Linked DNA regions of Homo sapiens: regions 1 and 3 are each linked to region 2. The links are contacts of gene promoters, found by promoter capture Hi-C in human tissues and cell types (Jung and others, 2019). All regions are on one chromosome and are shown on one strand. The core of a region is centred on a gene start or on the middle of the fragment in contact, and the rest is flanking DNA. Distances in the headings are between cores, read along the strand shown. Region 1 overlaps LOC105372063 (a long non-coding RNA gene). Region 2 holds the start of SLC39A6 (solute carrier family 39 member 6). Region 3 has its middle 43 kb from the start of ZNF396.

Evidence for each region. The method cuts DNA at HindIII sites, captures the fragments that hold promoters and counts their contacts. A contact is called where the count stands out against the background at its distance.
Region 1: a fragment that was not itself captured here is called in contact with the fragment with the promoter of SLC39A6 in region 2 in 1 of the 25 tissues and cell types used here (lymphoblastoid cells).
Region 3: a fragment that was not itself captured here is called in contact with the fragment with the promoter of SLC39A6 in region 2 in 1 of the 25 tissues and cell types used here (lymphoblastoid cells).

What each region holds. Positions count from the first base shown.
Region 1 is chr18:35,402,484-35,405,703 of GRCh38, forward strand. It overlaps LOC105372063 (a long non-coding RNA gene), which reads right to left. Exons shown (of 3, transcript XR_935376.3): 2 at 854-908. Among named protein-coding and RNA genes, the nearest start is that of ZNF396, 27 kb to the left of the region's middle. The HindIII fragment of the contact is 4,091 bases long and covers 1-3,220 here.
Region 2 is chr18:36,127,171-36,130,589 of GRCh38, forward strand. SLC39A6 (solute carrier family 39 member 6) reads right to left here and starts at 2,170. Exons shown (of 10, transcript NM_012319.4): 1 at 1,944-2,170. ELP2 (elongator acetyltransferase complex subunit 2) reads left to right here and starts at 2,729. Exons shown (of 22, transcript NM_018255.4): 1 at 2,729-2,901. The coding sequence starts at 2,764. RefSeq lists enhancers at 1,968-2,473, 2,096-2,390, 2,421-2,610, 2,474-2,979, 2,771-2,980. The HindIII fragment of the contact is 7,969 bases long and covers 1-3,419 here.
Region 3 is chr18:35,418,932-35,422,258 of GRCh38, forward strand. No RefSeq gene overlaps it. Among named protein-coding and RNA genes, the nearest start is that of ZNF396, 43 kb to the left of the region's middle. The HindIII fragment of the contact is 6,427 bases long and covers 1-3,327 here.

The DNA.
Region 1 (3,220 bases), core at 256-2,755, 730 kb before region 2:
TTGTTTCTCTAGGGAAAAATGCTAAACTAAATAGGATGCCAGGAAAATAGATATAAACTGGGACTGTCCCATACACATCAGGTCCATTTCAGGCAAATCGAGATGTATGATAGCCCTATGAATAACTGGCATTAGAAATGAGAATGGAGACATGGTTACAGATTGGCAGAGATTAAAAGAATAACAATTTGAAATTTAGAAATATTCATTTGAAATTCCTTGAAAATACAATTTTCCAATTTACTGATAGAAGTAGAAATAGGAAACATTAAATGCCCAATACTGCTAAGGAAATTGAATCTATAATTTTAAATCATCCCCCCACCCCACAAAAACTACAAGCCTAGATAGTTTCACTAATGAAATCTTCCCGAACATTTAAAGAGGAAATAGTGCCAACCTCAAACATTCTTACAGATGTTAGAAAAATAGAAAATATTCTCATTCTTATTTTATAAGGCCAGGATAACCCTGAAATGCCAAAAGCTAATAAAAACATTACAAAAAAAAGAAAAAAATGGCAAGGTAATTTCACTAATGAATACAGTTACAAAAATCTAAATAAAATATTAGCAAAATCCCTCAGCAATACATACAACATGATGAAATGGGTTCATTCCAGGAATGCAAGGTTTACTTAATACTATTGGAAAATTATTAAATGCAATCCACTATATTAACAAAACAAAGAAGAAAAATCATATGATTTAATAGATACAGAAAAGGCATTTAATAAAATCAAATCTCTATCTATGTTGAAAAGAAAAAACCAACCTCTTAGCAAACTAGAAATAGAAGGAAAAATCCTTAATACAATAAAGAGTATTCACAAAAGACCCACAGCAAACATTACCTTTAATAATGAGATGATCAAGCTTTCTTCTAGACATGGGAAACAAGACAAGGATCTGAGAAACAAGACAAGGATTCCACTGTTACTACCTATACTCAACATTGTCTTAGAGATCCTGGCAGAGACAAAGGCAAGGAAAAAATTTAAAAGCTAAGGATTAGAAAGGAGGACTTTTGGCTGGGTGTGGAGGCTCATGCCTGTAATCCCTGCACTTTGGGAGGCAGGTGGATCACCTGAGGTCAGGAGTTCGAGACTAGCCTGGCCAACATGGTGAAACCCAGTCTCTACTAAAAATACAAAAAATTAGCCAGATGTGGTGGCGGGTGCCTGTAGTCCCAGCTACTCAAGAGGCTGAGGCATGAGAATTGCTTGAACCTAGGAGGCAAAGGTTGCAGTGAACTGAGATCATGCCACTGCACTCCAGCCTGGGCAACTAGAGCAAAACTCTCTCTCAAAAAAAAAAAAAAAAGGATTTTTTAATAAGACATGGTAATATTTGTAGATAACCTATAGATAAATTAAGAGCTTTAACAAGTTCAATATACAACAAGCAACTGCATTTTTACATTTCAGCAACAGGTTGGGAAGTAAAAAAAATTTCCTTTAAATAGTCATTAGAAATTAAACACCTAAAGCATGTAACAAAAGATAGGCATGACTTCTTTATTTATTTATTTTATTATACTTTAAGTTCTAGGGTACATGTGCACAATGTGCAGGTTTGTTATGTATACATGTGCCATGTTGTTGTGTTGCACCAATTAACTCGTCATTTACATTACGTATATCTCCTAATGCTATCCCTCCCCCATCCCTCCACCCCATGACAGGCCCTGGTGTGTGATGTTCCCCTTCCTGTGTCCATGTGTTCTCATTGTTCAATTCCCACCTATGAGTGACAACATGCGGTGTTTGGTTTTTTGTCCTTGCGATAGTTTGCTCAGAATGATGGTTTCCAGCTTCATCCATGTCCCTACAAAGGACATGAACTCATCCTTTTTTATGGTTGCATAGTATTCCATGGTCCATATGTGCCACATTTTCTTAATCCAGTCTATCATTGATGGACATTTGGGTTGGTTCCAAGTCTTTGCTATTGTGAATAGTGCTGCAATAAACATATGTGTGCATGTGTCTTTATAGCAGCATGATTTATAATCCTTTGGGTATATACCCAGTAATGGGATGGCTGGGTCAAATGGTATTTCTATTTCTAGATCCTTGAGGAATTGCCACACTGTCTTCCACAATGGTTGAACTAGTTTACAATCCCACCAACAGTGTAAAAGTGTTCCTATTTCTCCACATCCTCTCCAGCACCTGTTGTTTCCTGACTTTTGAATGATCGCCATTCTAACTGGTGTGAGATGGTATCTCATTGTGGTTTTGATTTGCATTTCTCTGATGGCCAGTGATGATGAGCATTTTTTCATGTGTCTGTTGGCTGCATAAATGTCTTCTTTTGAGAAGTGTCTGTTCATATCCTTCGCCCACTTGTTGATGGGGTTTTTTGTTTTTTTCTTGTAAATTTGTTTAAGTTCTTTGTAGATTCTGGATATTAGCCCTTTGTCAGATGAGTAGATTGCAAAAATTTTCTCCCATTCTGTAGGTTGACATATAGGCATGACTTCTAAGCAAAAAGTTTTGAAATATAATTGAGGGAATCTGAAGCACTCCCAAATAATGAGAACAATCTTGAAACAGAACAAATTTGGAGGTCTCATACTTCCTAAATTCAAAACTTATTCCAAAAATACGGTAATCAGAACAGTATGGTACTGGTGTAAAGACAGACCTACAGACCAAAGGAATAGAATAGAGAGCTCAGAAACAAACTACCCCACACATAGTCAAATGCTTTTTAACAAGGATGCTGAGACCATCCAGTGGGGAAAGTCTTTTCAACAAATAGTGCTGGGAAGATTGGATATCCATATGCAAAAGAATAAAGTTGGACCCTTACACATCATACAAAAATTAACTTAAAATGAATTAAAGACCTAAATGCAATAGCTAAAGCTATAAAACTCTCAGAATAAAACAGGGGAAAATATTCAAGACATTGGATTTGGCAATGATTTATTCAATATGAAACCAAAAGCACAGGCAACAAAGCCAAAATAGATAAACTGGACTACATCAAACTTTAAAACTCCTGTGCATCAAAGGATACAATCAACAGAGTGAGAAGGCAACCTATAGAACTTGAGAAAATATTTGCAAATCATTTCAGACAGGGTTTAATATCCAGAATACATAAAGAACTGCAATGCAACAACAACAAACAACCAATTAAAATATGGGCAAAGGTCTTGAGTAGATATTTCTCCAAGGAAGATATACAAATGGTCTAACAAACACCTGAAA
Region 2 (3,419 bases), core at 920-3,419:
AAGAACTAGAGTCCTAGGCTCTACCCTTGCATTCCTAAAACACATGAAACAACTGGAGAAGAGCTGAGTGCTAAGAGACTGCCATTAGCACTGTAAAAGCAATAGTAATTCAGAGACAAGGGAGATCCATGTGGCCACAGCCATCAACTGCTTACTGAAGTTGAGAATTTATTTGAACGATTATTTGAATCATTGAGGCCAATGATTCATAATTAAATCTAGGCTGGGTGTGGTGGCTCATGCCTATAATCCCAGCACTTTGGGAGGCTGAGGCAGGCAGATCACCTGAGGCCAGGAGTTTGTGACCAGCCTGGGCAACATTGTGAAACCCTGTCTCAAAAAAAAAAAAGAACGAAATGAAATCTAGCTACCTTGATCATCACCATCATTTCATAAAATAACCTTCAAACACCAAAAAATAGAAATAATAATCTCAGAATTCACATATTTAAAAAATTTTAAACTAATACACTCTCCTTACATACAAGCCCATTTAAGACCCCTTTCCCCAATCACAATCCTCAAAGGTGCTCAATTTTGCCAGTGTATCCCTCAGGATATTTTCTATGCATACTCAAATACATGTATACTTAATTTTTTTTTTAAAGTTTTTTTTTTTTTTTTCTAGAGACGAGGTCTCACTATGTTGTCCGGGTTGGTCTTGAACTCCTGGCCTCAAGAGATCCTCCACCTCCAATTCCCAAAGTGCTGGGATTACAGGCGTGACCACTACGCCCAGCCTCAAATAAGTGTATACTTTAAATACACATTGAATCTTTTTTCCGACTTGACAATGAATCAGACACATTATGTCCATACATAGAATTCTTAAAGTAAACTGAACTTCATGAAAAACTCACTGTAGCATCCTTGTGTTACTACAAACCAGTCAACATTTAATCACAGGCTGTTAATCATCCACAGTAGTGTTTGGAACCAAAGGCCTGTGCCCCAAAGAGGAGGAAGCAATTGAGTTGGAGCTTGAAAAGCAGAATTCAGTTAAGCAGAGCCAGAATTCAGTTAATTCAGATCCAGCAGGATGTCCAGCACCAACGGTGGAGGTGATGGTGGTCAAACTCACATCTCCAGCAAAAGACGCAGACGTCAAGTTTACAACTAAGCAAGAGCATGGGGCTATCCAGCTCTACCACGGTCAGCTGTTCTTTGGACAGGGCTCTCGCATTCATTACCTTATCTAAAATACCGGTAAAACCTATTTTGCAAGGCGAAGGAGGAAAACACATGAAGGAATGTATATTACAAGTACTCGTTAAACTCATGTGTTGCACAAGTGCGAGGTATCATACAGGGAACAGTGGGAAATGGAGGTACGGCGTAGAACGAGGCTCCTGAAAGAGGAATCTTTGGGGCTTGAAGTTTCGGGAATTCTTTTACTAGGTAAAAGATAAACATTTAGAAATCATTCCCAGGAGAGAGGCGAGGAGCGGGGTGGGAGGGGACTAGCACAGGGGACAGCTCCGAGCCTTTCTCCAGGGAGGATGCTGAGCGCGGTCGTGGACCCGTTGAAGGATCTCCTTTCCTGCAAGTTGGTGTGTGCTGGAGGAAAAAGGAAAGCAGAAGGGAAGGGCCTTAGAGAAAAAGGCGAGTACAGAAAACGGAAAAGAGGGCACAAAGCTCTCTTCTAAAAGCTTTTTATTTCTAAACACGTCAGTCCCTTCTTCGAATATGGGATGAAAAGTACGGATCTTTTCCTCAAAAAATCCTCCGTTGCACCCCGAAGCCCATCTGAGCACCTTAAGAAGTCCGGCTCTCTAGGGTGAGTGGGCGCCTGCGGCGGGCTCCCCCCAGCATCCTCTTTCTGTAGCCCCCCTGCCCGGTCCGCAGGATCCGGTTCTCCGCAGAACCACCCCTACCCCGCCACGCCTGTCTGGCCTGAGGAGCTCCCCTCCCAGCCGCCCTGCTCCCGGACCTGAAAGACTCACGTCTCCGCGGCCTCGTTGTCCCACGGCCCGGCCACGCGCGCAGGTTTGGTTCCACACGGGCGGTCCAGAGGGCTCGGAACGGGCCCACTGGTGTCTTCGAGAAATCTCTACCAGGCGCGAACACGCGGTGGTTTCATTGGGTTGGCTGCCCCTCGGTCCGGGGGCAGCGCCGCGCAGCCACCCGGCAGCCGCGCCCCTAGCCTTCGCGAAGCTGGAAGACAATCACTAATTACCGCCGCGCGCAGCGCCGCGGGGAACCACCGCCCCCTTCGCCCAGGACTGCAGGGCATGCGCAGTGCGACCCCGGAACCCGGCTCCGCAGACGGATCCGCTTTTCCGTGTGTTCGCCGACGCCGCGGGGGCGTGGCGCGGCCCTAGCGCATTGTAAGCAGTTGGGGGTCATTTCCTCGAGGCCCTACTCGCTAGCCAGCGCCCCCGGGGCCAGCCCTGGCTGCTGCTGGGAGCCGGGTCGTAAGGGGCAGCGAGATGTTTCTGACGCTGCCCCAGGCACATGAGCCCCGGGTCCTTCGGGAGGGTCCCGAGCCACTCGGGTCGGATTTCGCTCTTGAGACAAAGGCCTGGCTCGTTCGCGGAGCGGGGCCACGGTCCAAGAGCAGAGCTAGCAAAGCGGCGGCCTTGCACAGGGGTTCCAGCCTGCGGTGGGAACGGAGAGTCTCAGGGGGGCGGGGCTGCCTCCGTCTGGCCCTCGGCTGGCTGCGAAACGTGGACTGGGTGATGCCTCAGGAGAAACCACCCTAGTAGTTCCGCTCCGAGGGCGGAAGTGCGCGTCTCTTGTTTGTGCGGCTGACCAGTTGGCGACATGGTGGCACCCGTGCTGGAGACTTCTCACGTGTTTTGCTGCCCAAACCGGGTGCGGGGAGTCCTGAACTGGAGCTCTGGGCCCAGAGGACTTCTGGCCTTTGGCACGTCCTGCTCCGTGGTGCTCTATGACCCCCTGGTAAGAGAGGTCGCTGGACGGCCGACCCTTGTGCTTTTCGGGTTGAACCTGTGGACGTGCTCCGGGCGCGCTGTTAGTTGCCGCCCCAGACCTAGGAGGCGAGTCGGGTCGGCTCAGGGGAGCGGGGTTTGGGCTCGGAGTCTCCAGTGGACCTGCCGGACTCGCTCCTCACCCCTCACCCTTTGCCGTCTCACGCGTGGCGTCATCCTAGGGTCATTGCTGCCCATGAGCTGCTAGTAACCTGTTAGTCCCACGCAGAAACCCGAATGATAAGCATCTTACCTGAAGCCTTCCTTGGGAACTGTAGTACCGTTAATCAATTTGGGTTTTAAAACAATTGAAATTTATATGTAGATTAAAACCATCATCCCACAGGTGCAATCTCATTTCAGTATTTCCTTCAGTTTTGGTTAATGAACTTTTGTTGTATTGAATTTCAAGGAAATGTTACCTGTGTTTTAGCTACGGGAATGGACATTTTAGAGAAAGTGTCAGTTTGGGGGAAAGGTCATAGGGGA
Region 3 (3,327 bases), core at 304-2,803, 710 kb before region 2:
ATAGAAACTTTTTGGTGGACGTAATTCTTCTTACCACAGTCAATGACCCTGATATGGTTTAGCTGTGTGTCCTCACCCAAATCTCATCTCGAATTTTAATCCCCATGTGTTGAGAGAGGGAAGTGACTGGATTATGAAGGCCATTTCCCCCATGCTGTTCTCGTAATAGTGAGTGAATTCTCATGACATCTGATTGTTTTATAAATGGCTATAAATGGTAGTTTTTCCTGCACTCTCACACATTCTCTCTCTCGCCTGCAACCGTGTAAGACATGCCTGCTTCCCTTTCCACCATGATTTTAAGTTTCCTGAGGCCCCAGCCATATGGAACTGTGAGTCAGTTAAACCTCTTTTCTTTATAAATTACCCAGTCCAGGGCAGTTCTTTATAGCAGTGTAAGAATGGACTAATATAGATCCATTTTGTGTTAATATTTATATATAGTGTGAAGTATGAATAGTTCATTTGTTTTCATGTGGATATGCAATTGTTCCAGCATCATTTGTTAAAAAGGCTATCTGCAATGATCTGGATGTGTCCTCCCAAAATTCAGATGTTGAAATTTAATCACAAATCTGACAGTATTGAGAGGTGGGACTTTTAGGAAGTGATTAAGTCATGAGGCAGAGATGCCATGAATGGGATTACTGCCCTTATAAAAGAGGTTGAAGGGAACAGCCTTGACCTGCCATGTGAGGATGCAGTAACAAGGTGCCACCTTGGAAAAAGAGATCATTCCCTCACCAGACACTAAATCTGATAGTGCATTGATTTTGGACTTCCCAGCCTCCAGAACTGTGAGCAATACATTTCTATTATGTATAAATTACTCAGTCTAAGGTATTTTTGTTATAGCTGCCTGAATGAACTAAGATACTTTTTCTCTACTGGATTTCCCTGTACCTTTGTCAAAAATCCTTTGTCAATGTATGTTTGGGTCTATATCTGGACTCTGTATTCTGTTCCATTTATCTGATTGTTTATTGCTATGCCAATACAACACTGTTTTGACTATCACAGCATTACAGTGTCTTGAAGTCTGGTAGAGTTAACCGCAATTTTTCTCTTATTTTTCAAAGTTGTTTGAATATTTCAGGTTTTTGCATTTCTATGTGAATTTTAGAATCAAAATATCAATTTCTATATGAATAATACTGGATTTTGAGATTGAATTGAATATATAGATTAATTTAGGGAGAATTGACATCACAACTATATGTTGTGTTTTCTTACCACCGAACAAAATATAATCTCCTTTTATTTAGATTTTCTTTTATTTATCTCAGCATTGTTTTATATTTTTCAGTGTAGAGCTCTTTCACATCTTTTGTCAGATGTATCCCAAGCTTTTCATTTTTTGGAAACATTGTATTTTAATATCAATATATGATTGTTCATTCCTAGTATATAAAAAAGGAATTTATTTTTGTTTCCGTTTCTTACTTTTCTTTCTTATTGCACTGGCCATAATCTCCTGTGCAATGTTAAATGTTGTCCTTGTCCTGTTCCTAATATTAGGGGAAAGCCTTCAGTCTTTCACCATTAAGTATAATGTTAACTCTAAGTCTTTCATAGATGGCCTTTATCAGGTTGAAGAATTTCCCTCATATTCCTAGTTTGCTAAGATTTGGATTTTTTTTCACAAAAAAACAAACAAAAAAGCCCACAAGAATCAGCTGGGCACAGTAGCTCACACCTGCAATCTCAGCACTGGGAGGCTCAGGTGGGCAGATAGCTTGAGTTCAGAAGTTTGAGACCAGCCTGAGCAACATGACAAAACCCTGTTTTTACCAAAAATACAAAAATTAGCCAGGCAAGGTGGTATGTGCCTGTGGTCCCAGCTACCTAGAAGACTGAGGTGGGAGACCCACCTGAGCCTGGGAGGTGGAGATTGTGCCAAGACCCAAGATCACACCACTGCACTCAAGCCTGGGCAACAAAGTGTAAACCCATCTCAAAAAAAAAAAAACCCACAAAAATTGATGTTGGATTTTGTCTAATGCTTTTTCTGTGCTATTGAGATGATTATATGGTTTTTGTTCTTTCTGCTGATATGATGTGTCACATTTATTGATTTGAACCATCTTTGTATCCCTGGGATAAATCCCCCTTGATCATGGTGAATAATCTTTTTAATGTGCTGCTGGATTCAGTTTGCTAGTATTTCATCCGAGATTTTTGCATACTGGTCCATCAGAGACATTGGTGTATAGTTTTCTTTTTTTGTTGTATTTTTGGTTTTGGTATCAGCGGAATGTTGACCTCATAGAATGAGTTTGGAAGTAGTTCCTCCTCTTTACTTTTAATTTTCCTTTTAACCAGGAAGAATGAGCTTGAATCTTCTTTACTTTTTGGGAATAGCTTGAGACATATTGTTATTGGCTCTTTAAATGTTTGGGCGAATAACTCAGTGAAGCCATTGGGGCCTCGGCTTTTCTTTGATGGGAGGCTTTTTATTACAGATTTAAGCTCATAACTCATAAGGGGTCTGTTCAGGTTTTCTGTTTCTTATTATTTCTATCTTGATAGGTTGTATATGTCCAGGAATTTATCTATTTCCATTCAGTTTTCTGATTTGTTGGCATATAGTTGTTTGTAATGTAATAGACAAATAATTCTTTGTATTTCTGTGATATTAGTTGCAATACCTCGTTTTCATTTCTGTTTTATTTATTTAGATCTTCTTTTTTCTTGGTCAGTCTACATAATGGTTTGCTGATTTTGTTCATCTTTTTAAAAAGCCAACTTCTTGTTTCATTGATATTTTATATCTTTTTATGTCTCAATTTTATTTATTTATGCTCTGTTCTTTATTATTTCTTACCTTCCACAAATTTTGAGTTTGGTTTGCTTTTGCTTTTCTAGTTCCTTGAGATGCATTGTGATATAGTTTCAATGTGTGTTCCTGCCTAAATCTCATGTTGAATTGTAATCCCCAGTATTGGAGGAGGAGCCTGGTGGGAGGTGATTGGATCATGAGAGTGGACTTCATCCTTGCTGTTCTCATGATAGTGAGTGAGTTCTCATGAGATCTGGGGGTCCTTATATTCTCATTTTCCACACAATGGGGGGGATTTAGCCAAGGAAATCTCTTAGTGTCAGGTCTGATACAGCCTACAAGCAGCTGCAATGACACTGGGTTCCAGGTGCAGGTGCTTGCAGTAGTTGTGAGTCTGGAGTCCTAGGCTTAGTGTCTTGTGAACCTATTTTGGCACCTGGGTGTTGGGGTACTGGTTTGCTCTCTGTGGTGGGGTTGGTTGTAGCTTGCTCACAGAGATAGAATCTGTCACCTTGAGGTAACTTCTAGCAGCTCAGGCCCAGAGGGCT